Linked DNA regions of Homo sapiens: region 1 is linked to region 2. Evidence: promoter capture Hi-C in human tissues and cell types (Jung and others, 2019). All regions are on one chromosome and are shown on one strand. The core of a region is centred on a gene start or on the middle of the fragment in contact, and the rest is flanking DNA. Distances in the headings are between cores, read along the strand shown.

Region 1 (4,894 bases), core at 243-2,742, 140 kb before region 2:
AAATGGCACATTCAGTTTCCCCTATTACTAGGGGAATTACTAGCATCCCACATTAGGAATTTGTTACCATTAACAAACCAATATTGGCACATTATTATTATTAAAGTTCATATTCTCGGCTGGTCATGGTGGCTCACACCTGTAATCCCAGCACTTTGGGAGGCTGAGGTGGATGGATCACGAGGTCAGGAGTTCAAGACCAGCCTGGCCAACATGGTGAAACCCTGTCTCTACTAAAAATACAAAAATTAGGTGGGCATGGTGGTACGCAACTGTAGTCCCAGCTACTCGGGAGGCTGAGGCAGATAATTGCTTGAACCCGGGAGGCAGAGGTTATGGTGAGCTAAGACTGTGCCACTGCACTCCAGCCTGGGCAACAGAGTGAGATTCCATCTCAAAAAAATAAATAAATAAATAAATAAAGTTCGTATTCTCTTCATATTTTCTTCAGTTTTTACCCAATGTCCTTTTTCTGTTCCGGGGTTCCATCCAGGATATCACGTTACACTTGGTTGTCACCTTAGACTCCTCGTGGCTGTGACAGTTTCTCAGACTGTCCGTGTTTTTTGACGGCCTTGATAGTTTGGAGGAGTAATGGGCAGGCGTTTTGTAGAACATCCTTCAGTTGAGGTTTGTCTGATGTTTTTCTCATGATTATAATAGAACAGGGTTACTAGTTTTGGTGAGGAAGACCACAGAGGCAAGTGCCATTTTCATTTCATTGTGTCAAGAGTACTTCCCACTGTTGGGGTTACTCTGGAGCCCCTGGGTGAAGTAGTTTGTAGTGTTGCCCATGGTAACATGACTCTCCCCGCCCTTTTCAATACTGTGCTCTGAGAGGAATTCGCTATGTGCTGCCCACACTTAAGGAGTGTGAGTTATCCTGCATCTCCTTGAGGGCAGAACATCTACATAAATTATTTGTAGTTCCTCTGTAAGGGAGATTTGTCTTTTCTCCTCAAGTAATTTTTCCCATCTAGTCTTTACTTGAATGAATTATTTTATTTTCACTGAACACCAACTAAAAAATAGTCTAAAGCCAATTCCCCCAAATTGATGGAATTTCCTGTAATTATTAGTATTTGGAGTGTTCTTAAGCCTGGGCATGGGGGAAATATGACAAAAACAAGGTTTCTAAAACCTGACTTAATCTTCTAGTTGAGTGTCACAGTGGGCAGATCCGGAATTAGTAATTCCTTGCTAACCCTATACGGAAAGGCCCGAAAATGAATAAGGACTTAAAAATAAAATGAGTGGGATGGTCAAAACCAATATAAATGAATTGCTGTGAGCCAAATGGAAAAGCATCCTTTGGCAAGTTTCAACCAGTTACCTCTGCATGCCCTGAGAATGTGCTTTTGGTGTTCCAGGCCACTGGGCGCCCTTTGTAGGCAGGCATCCTGCCCCTCCTCCAAAAGGAGGCAATCTCCTAAAACATGCCTCTCCTAAGACACAGATGTTCAGACTGTCCTAGAATTAACATGCTCTTAAAAATCATACACATACACACACCCTTTTATTATTATTATTATTATTATTTTTAGAATAAAAGCCATGTCTTAATTAGAATAATTTGCTGGGTAACCAAAAATCCACTTGAACTTTTCCTTGGAGAGACTCCTTCCTTGTAAAACTAAAAAGTATATGCTTTAGGGTTGCTCATTTGAAAGAAAATGGGAGAAGATTATTGTTGGATCAGCCTGTAGTTTTTATATCTGTTTGGTCAGATCAAAATTAGCCACCATTATCTTCACCCCATCAGTATATTTTTTTTCTCTGAAAGCAATTCAAACTTTGTTCCCAAAGCATGAACTTACAGACATAGGCTAGTGTTGTACATTTCTCCAAAGTTTGCCTCCAGAAGAAAAGACCTCTAATGTGCCAGCAGGTTCCTTGCACCCGCCCCCACCTTGGGTCAGGCACAGCCCAGTTGCAGCATTCCAAGGCTCTGACACATCTCCTTGGAAACCCACCCATTGCCTGGTATATAGCAACCTGCATTCCCCAGTGGTAGAGGCCTTGATTCCTGTCTTATCCTGTTCTTCTGTGCTTTCATACACATCTGAGGACAGGCCTTCATTTTGATCTATTATCTCAGGCCATTAAAATGAGCAGAAGGAAAAAAGTCCTTGAACAGCTCCAGTGTAATTGTGGTGAAGATTCTTAAAAAGAATTCTCATGGCCATTTCAGAGCCTCCTCAGTTTCCCCATTTCCTACAAATGCAGCAAATGGAGAACTGCCTTCATTACACAGAAAGTTCAGGGAAGAACATGTTGGTGTTGCAAGTGGTTTCTGGCCAACTATACCCCTGCTAACAGTATTTTTCTAAAGTATGGCACTTCATTTCCAGATTAGGCACACTCACACCTTCATTTAACAAATTAGGTGTCCTCAATGTGTCACCCACTATCTAAAGCATGATTATTATGATCTTTCTGGAAGATTTTGGATCTTGTTCATTCTTAACCATTATTTTTATTCAGCACTATAGTTAATACAGACAGTATAAGTCAAAGTTTTGCTCACCCTTTGCTCACTTGGAATTTTGGAAATCTTTGTTTATTTTTTTAAATGAGATTATTGATATGAGCTTATATTCTTGAGATATTTTTCTTTTAATTAACTCAATTGCTCAGCGGGGAGAGTGGTGGGTGGGATCCAGTCAATCTAAGGGCTTTGATTAATGTTTTATAGGTATGTAGTTTCCAAATTCTTTGCCTGCAGAGGTACACTAAAAGAATGCTAGTTTGCAGAATGCACATGGAACCACAAAAGGAAATACAGTAATCTGATATTTGGTTAGAGTAAATCAGATATCCCTATTTAAACCATTGGCTTTACAAAAATTACACAAGTGTACTTCATCAACCCCAAGCATGCACGCTAGTGTTCATGTGGGACTCAAACCCACCCTTTTGTATCAAGGAGTCTCATCAAGTGTCCATCATGTGTCTGTGTGCAGGATGCAAAGAGCCAGGACATCCATGAGTCACGATGTGTCATTCATGGCCTATGGGCTGACAAAGTGAATAAATATTTCGTTAGGCTTTATTTGAGAAATAAAACTTCAGGACAATGTACTGAAGTGGCTTCAACTGGGACAGGATTGAAAGAGAGAAAAGTGTGATTACTTAACCAAACAAATTATCTAGTAAAACACCTACTTCAGCTACTCACTACTGTGATCACATCTAGATGGTGCCATTTCAATCACGTGTACTTTTTCCACAACCTCAGTTTCAAGCACCCCGTCTCTAATCACCACCGTTGATTCTTGAAGCTCAGTCACTCGAGTGCCCAGACTTTAATAATATCTCAACCCTCTGGAGCCTACGATCCATTGAACCTGCCACCTTTGCACTTCTCCCACCTTCCTTTACCATCATAGCCCTCCTAACCCATTTTAAATTCCATGGTTAGTCATTAGAATCCATCCTTCACACACACCCACAACTTACTGCCTCACTTTGAATTCACGTTCATTAGCTTCAAGGGGTTCTTAATACTACCTGGCCATCAGATCCATTTCCCCAGTCCATTGGCTTTCCTGTTCTCCTCAAAGACCGTTTCACACTTTCCCTTTTTCTTCAAACCTTCCACTCTTCCTCCCCCATGTCACTCTGCTAATGATTTATTTCCTAAGACACACAAAAACCCAGAAGTACTCAGAAGAGAACTTCTACCACACACTTCTACAGCCACATCCCACAATTTGCCTACCTTCCCCATGATCACATATCCCATCTCAGGTCAACAGGAGGGCTCCTCCCTTGCCCTCATCAAGGACTGCACTCAGGGATTCTCTACCTGCATCGTTGGTTTTTTTCTTTCTTCTAGGATATTGCCCGCCTGCCTACAACATGCTGTTGGTTTTTCCTATCTCAAAAAAACAAAACGACTGCCTTGAACCCATGCTATACTTTAGCTTCTGCCCTATTTTTCTGCTCCCCTTTAGAGCAATACGAAAGAGTTGTCCATACTGACTCTCCCCAGTTTCTGTTCTCCTAGTCTCTCTTGAAACTGCTGCAATTAGGTTTCAAGAAACCTCTCCATGGCAATTAGGTTTTTGCCTCCATTATTCCAATGAAACTGCCTATACCTAGGTCTCCAGGGCCTTCCATGTTGTAAACTCAATGGCCAATTCTCAGCCATAATCTTCTTGGCTCTGACAGCATCATTTAACATAACTGATCATTTCTTTCTCCTTAAAACACTTTCTTTTCTTGGTTTCCAGGACATTGTGCTCATAAGGCTTTTCTCCATGAGGCATCTCCTTCTCAGTCTACTTTGCTGAATCCTTTTCTCTCCACCTCTTAACATAGAAGTGCCCCTTAAGGTAGAAGAAGCCACCAGAAGCTCAGGCCTTGAATCTCTTTTATGTCTACGCTCACTCCTTTGATTTTCCCACCTAGTTTCAAAGCTTTAAGCATATATGCTGATGACTTTCAAATTTATGTCTTCAGCCTGCTTGCACAGCTGTCCTGAACACTATGCTCATATATCTAACTGCATAATCGAAATCTCCATTTAGATGGGTAATTAATATCACCAATGTAATACATGCAGAGCTGAACTCCTGATGTTCTGTCCCCCTAGACCTCTTCTGCCTCAGTCTTCCATACCCTTGTTCAGTCCAAGAATCTTGAAGTCATTCTTGACTCTTTTCTTCCATAGAAAATCTTGCTGTCTTACTCTACCTTCAGATCATAATCAGAATTGGATCACTTCTCATCAACCTCCACTGTAATCACGTTGATTCCAGCCCCCCCTTGTCTTTTGCATGGATGATTGTCATTGCATCCCATCTCCTCGCCCTACTTTTGCCCTTGTCCCACTTTGGTCTACCTTAACACAACTGCCAGGAAACTCCTATTATAGTGTGACTCAGGTCAT
Region 2 (4,925 bases), core at 398-2,897:
CTCACACATAGATTCCTCTGTTAAACACAATAATGAAACTTTCTGCCTATTTACGTATCTCAATGATGAAGAAAACCTTAGCTAGACCGAACATTATTTTTGGTGCTTCCAGATACATATGTCCATCCTCAATCCACTGCCCTGCCATGAAGTTTTCTACACATCCCTTTCCTGATTTCTGAAACATCACTTACACGTGTTTCTACAGTTGCTTTGAATGAAAGCAAAAGGGAAGACAGTAAAGGAGAGCCTTTTTACCCAGGGACAAGGCTATGCCCAGCAATTACAGTGAGTGCACTTCCTTTTGTTCATTCTGCACCAGGATTAGCAGTCAAATCGCTTTGTGGTTCTTAATTAAGGCTGAGCAGCTATAAAGAACAATAACTTCAAAAGTGAATTTATGTTTTAATTACACATAGGCAATATAGGCAGCGAAGGCATTTGCTCCCCTCAAATTCCCCCTTAACTCAACAGAGCAATCACCCTCAGCCCTGGAAGGACATCTAAACATTTTAAAGGCGAAAGTGTTTAAGGCGGACCTTCTTGTTTCCGATCCAAGAATGCGCTGTGATGACCTTGCTAGCAAAGAGAAAAGTGGGGATGGGAGTTTCTGATTAACGCTTCAGAAAAAAAAGGGGGAAATCACAATCCTAACAGCCGAAATGCAGAATAATCAGAGAGCCAGAATCCCGTTAAGTCAGAAAGAACAGGAAAGCAGAGAGACTCGTGCGGAACATCCTGGCCCTCACGGGATGTTAAAAGCAGTATCTATTTAAGAAGTTGGAGAAAGGAGTTTCTGTGTGGCCCATGCCGGGGAACAGAGAGCAAACACGCGGCCGTCTGCGCCCGTGAGGCCGGCCACTGGGACGGAGCCGGTCCGGGAGCTGGGCTGCTGGCGAGCAGTAGCAGGGGACGGGGCTGTCACCGCTTACCCAGGTGCAGCGTGAGGTTGATGGAGCTGGGGTACTGCACCCCGGCCAGCATGGTCTGGCTTTGCCACCAGGTGGTGTCGGCCTGGTTGTTGTAGTCGGTCAGGAAGGCTGCCCCGTGCTGCAGGTGGGGCTGCCCGGCGTCGCACAGGTGACAGGACTTGGTGACCCCGGTCACCCCGGTCTGCACACAGTATTCCTCGGGCGGAGTCCCACACGTGTTGGTGGCCACCACAGTCACGTTGAAGGCGGCGTTGACGAACTCGGGCATGCAGCGCTGCGGCCGCCCGCCCTCGTCCGTGCACTCGTCCATGGCTGCCTGGGCACAGCCCGCCGCGGCGGCCGCCGCCAGCACGGCCAGCACGGGCCAGAGCCGCCCCCGGGGCCGCAGGGCCGGCGCGGCCCGATGGCTCCCTCTCATCCCGCCGCCCGCACGCTGGGTCACGGCGAAGGCAAGGGCACCGGCGCGTTCCTCTCGCCTAGCGGCGTCCCCCGGAGGCCGCTTCGCTGCTTGAGCCTGGGGGCCCAGGGGCCTGACTCCGGCGCGGGCGGTGGCGGCGGCTCGCGCCGGAGAGACTGACGGGTGGGCGCCCCTAGCGAGGACCGCGCTGCTCGCCGACCACTGCCCCCGCGCGCCGCCTCCGCGCTTCCCTCACCTACCCCGGGAGCAGCCTGCACTCCGCGCCGACCCCCGACTTCCGAGCGCGTGCCCGAGTGCGCGCCCCCGGGGAGGAAGGAGCAGGGGGTGGGGTCGGCAGGGTGGGGTGGGGTCTGGGCGAGGAGAAAGCCCAACCCTGTCTCCTCTCAGCAACTCCCGCGGCCCCTGGGGCAACTCCCCGGCCCACCGCGCCCCATGGACTGCGCGTCCGCCCCGGCGACTCCAGGAGGCGGCGGGGGCGGGAGCAGCGGCGTCTCGCGCTCGGGCCCGCGGCGCGCGACCCGGGGGGAGGGGCGCGCGAGGTGGGCGGGGAGCCGGGGGAGGGGGTTGGGGGAGGGGAGGGGAGAGGAGGGGAGAGGAGGGGAGGGGAGAGGAGAGGAGGGGAGGGGAGGGCGGCTGGGTGGTGCATGCCGGGAGGGAAGGGCGGCCTCGCAGACCCGCTCCCCGCGCGGGAGTCGCTGGGGTCCTTGGGCTCCGCGGCCTGGGAGACTCCGGATTGCGGGAGGAGTCGGGGGAGGGCGCCTTAGAGGGGCGATGCCGGGTCAGGAGGTCGCTCGGGGTCGTCCCTGGGGCCTCGCGCCAATTTGGGCTGCGGCAAGAGGGTCCCCGCCCGGCCAGGTGTGGGTCCGAACCGGGAGCGCCCGCTGCTGCCCGGGGCCCCGCTCCAGCCCCTCCCGAACAGAGGTCCCGGGGCGTTCATGGGGCCGACACGGTCCCTGGAGAATCAGAAGGGCCTGGTCGCAGCAGCCAGATGAGTTTCGTGAAGCGATTTCCTGCCGCTGATTTAAAGTGTAACCAGTCGTTTTACCGGGGCAAGGAAGGAAGTGAAAAGGCTGGGAATGGAATGAATTTTTCCCTTGGGTACGCACGACCCACTGCGAAATTCTTCCACTGTGTTGTTTGTGTTCCTCGGCTTGCCTTTAAAAGACTCGAAATTATGTGGATTCTGACATCCTCCTTTTCGGGCCTGCTGAGTCACGGAATATTCTCAGTGCCAGAATGACTCAGTTCACAGAACCTGAGCCAGAAGATCATGAGTTTTAGTCCCGGAGCAGAACCTGGGCGCTTACCCAGTGCTGGATACGGCAAGCAGAGACCAGGGCAGGGAGGCAGCAGCTTGAAACCCTTGGCGTCCCCAAGCAGAGAGGATGCACATAGTGAATGACACGGATTTGTTTTGTTCTAGCTTTTCAGGAATTTAATGATAAAGTGCGGATAATAAGTACACCGCAAAAACAAAACAAAAAAACACATGCATAATTTCGGACCCAGTTGTCCCATTAAGATAGGCGTAATGGGAATCTGAAACAAGGAAATAAGTATATGTTAGGTGACTCTGGATAGTTAGGGTTAGTTAGACGCAGACTGCTGATTAGGAAAACCTTAAGGATAATGTTCTGGTAGGATGAAGAAGGGAGGGGAATCTAGGGTCTTGTTACACGGCTGAGCTTACTTAGCAAGTTATGTTCATCACTGTTCCGTTTATTTGATGAGATGGGTGGAGATTATGCATGGCTAAAGGTGCCTCATTCTTGGCACCTTCTCTTTGGGAGAATTAAGTTGTGGGGACTAATAATTTTTTAATCCTTTCATACATGAGTTGAAGCGAAATAAATACGTTCATTTACACCTAGAGGGGATTATATGCTCTCTCAGTCCTTCGTTGTACTTGAGGACAAACGTGGGCATATAGGACAAAAATAAGGATGTTAGTTGTGAATAAAGCTACAGATTTGTAATAAACTTGTTTATATTTTAATAAACATATTAGTGAATTTGCATTATTATACATTTTTAGTACTTTGTTATATAGTGGCCAAAGCGTGGGTCTCTATTTCCAACAATCAAAATAAAGACAAGGAGACCCCCAAAGGCTGTGAAATCAACATAAATGGGTTTGTCATTGCTGCCTTTTGAGTCCTAATGTCCAAGACTAACATCAAGATATTACTTATGCGAATTTTCCGTAACTTAATTACCAGAGCTTATCTGATATTTGTAAAGCACATAAAGAGACCTTGAATTAATCTCTCAATTCTCTTGCTTATGGAAATGTGTCACAGTGACAAACATCTATTTTGAAAAGAGGTAAAGTGTAACCAGCCAGTGGGCTTGATGATAAAAATTTTGCTCCGTTATTTGGATCTTGATTCAAACAAATCAACGGTTAAAACAAAATTTTTAAGACAATTTGAGAAATTTGAACACTAACCAGATGTTTGATGTTATCGACAAATTATTTTAGCCACCTAGAGATGCCACAGTCTACTAGACAGTATTTAAAGAAAAAAAGTGAAAGTGTGTAAGAATTTCTTTTACTGCAGGTTACCCTGTTTTTCAAAAAACTCCAGTCTTTTGAATGCACGTTCTTAAGTGCTTAGACATTTCATTATCAGCCGGGCGCGGTGGCTCACGCCTGTAATTCCAGCACTTTGGGAAGCCGAGGCAGGGGATTACTTGAGGCCAGGAGTTCGAGACCAGCCTAACCAATATGGTGAAACCCTGACACTACTAAAATTACAAAAATTAGCCGGGCCGGCTGGGGTCGTTGGCTCACGCCTGTAATCCCAGCACTTTGGAAGGCCGAGGCGGGTGGATTACTTGAAGTAAAGAGTTCTAGACCAGCCTAGCCAACATGGTGAAACCCCAACTCTACTAAAAAAATAAAAAAATTAGCTAGGCGTGGTGGCGCGTGCCTGTAATCCCAGCTACTTGGGCAGCTGAGGCAGGAGAATCCTTGAACCAGGGAGGCGGAGGTTGCAGTGAGCCAAGATCGCGCCACTGCACTCTAGCCTGGGCGACAGAGCAAGACTCTGTCTCAAAGGAAAAAAATCATCCCGGCGTTGTGTCCATGCCTGTAATCCCAGCTACTCGGGAGGCTGAGGCAGGAGAATTGCCTGAACCCAGGAGGCAGAGGTTGCAATGAGCGAGATTGCGCCACTGTACTCCATCCAGCCTGGGCGACAGAGTGAGAACCTGTCTCAAAAAAAAAAAGAAAAGAAAGAAAGAAAGAGAGAGGAATTCTATTATCTGAAAGACAGAGAGAAAAAGGAGGGATGGAGGGGGGAGGGGGAGGGGGAGGGGAGTTTCATTATCTACCAGACATGGTACTTAGAAGAAAAATGTGAACGGATGGGGAAAACTTTATTCAGGTCCCTCAAAAGATGATCTTAGTGCCCAATCATCAGTGTCTCTATGCAGCAACAAAGGCAGGATGAGGAAATGTAATTGTTTATTGTTTATTGTATGGGCAAGAGAGCTCCAATTAAAGAAAAAAAATGTGAAACTCCAGAGAAAAGAGATTTCTCCCTTCATAATCTATATAAATAATTTCAAGG

Evidence for each region. Contacts are between HindIII fragments. The study calls those that stand out against the background at their distance.
Region 1: a contact is called between a fragment that was not itself captured here and the fragment with the promoter of LAMC1 in region 2, in 1 of the 25 tissues and cell types used here (bladder).

Annotation. Positions count from the first base shown.
Region 1 is chr1:183,161,609-183,166,502 of GRCh38, reverse strand. No RefSeq gene overlaps it. Among named protein-coding and RNA genes, the nearest start is that of LAMC2, 22 kb to the left of the region's middle. The HindIII fragment of the contact is 8,064 bases long and covers 1-4,894 here.
Region 2 is chr1:183,020,142-183,025,066 of GRCh38, reverse strand. LAMC1 (laminin subunit gamma 1) reads right to left here and starts at 1,647. Exons shown (of 28, transcript NM_002293.4): 1 at 933-1,647. The coding sequence starts at 1,350. RefSeq lists enhancers at 731-1,284, 1,840-2,394, 2,395-2,950, 3,688-4,187 and silencers at 1,239-1,378, 1,399-1,468, 1,519-1,908, 1,939-2,328. The HindIII fragment of the contact is 13,956 bases long and covers 1-4,925 here.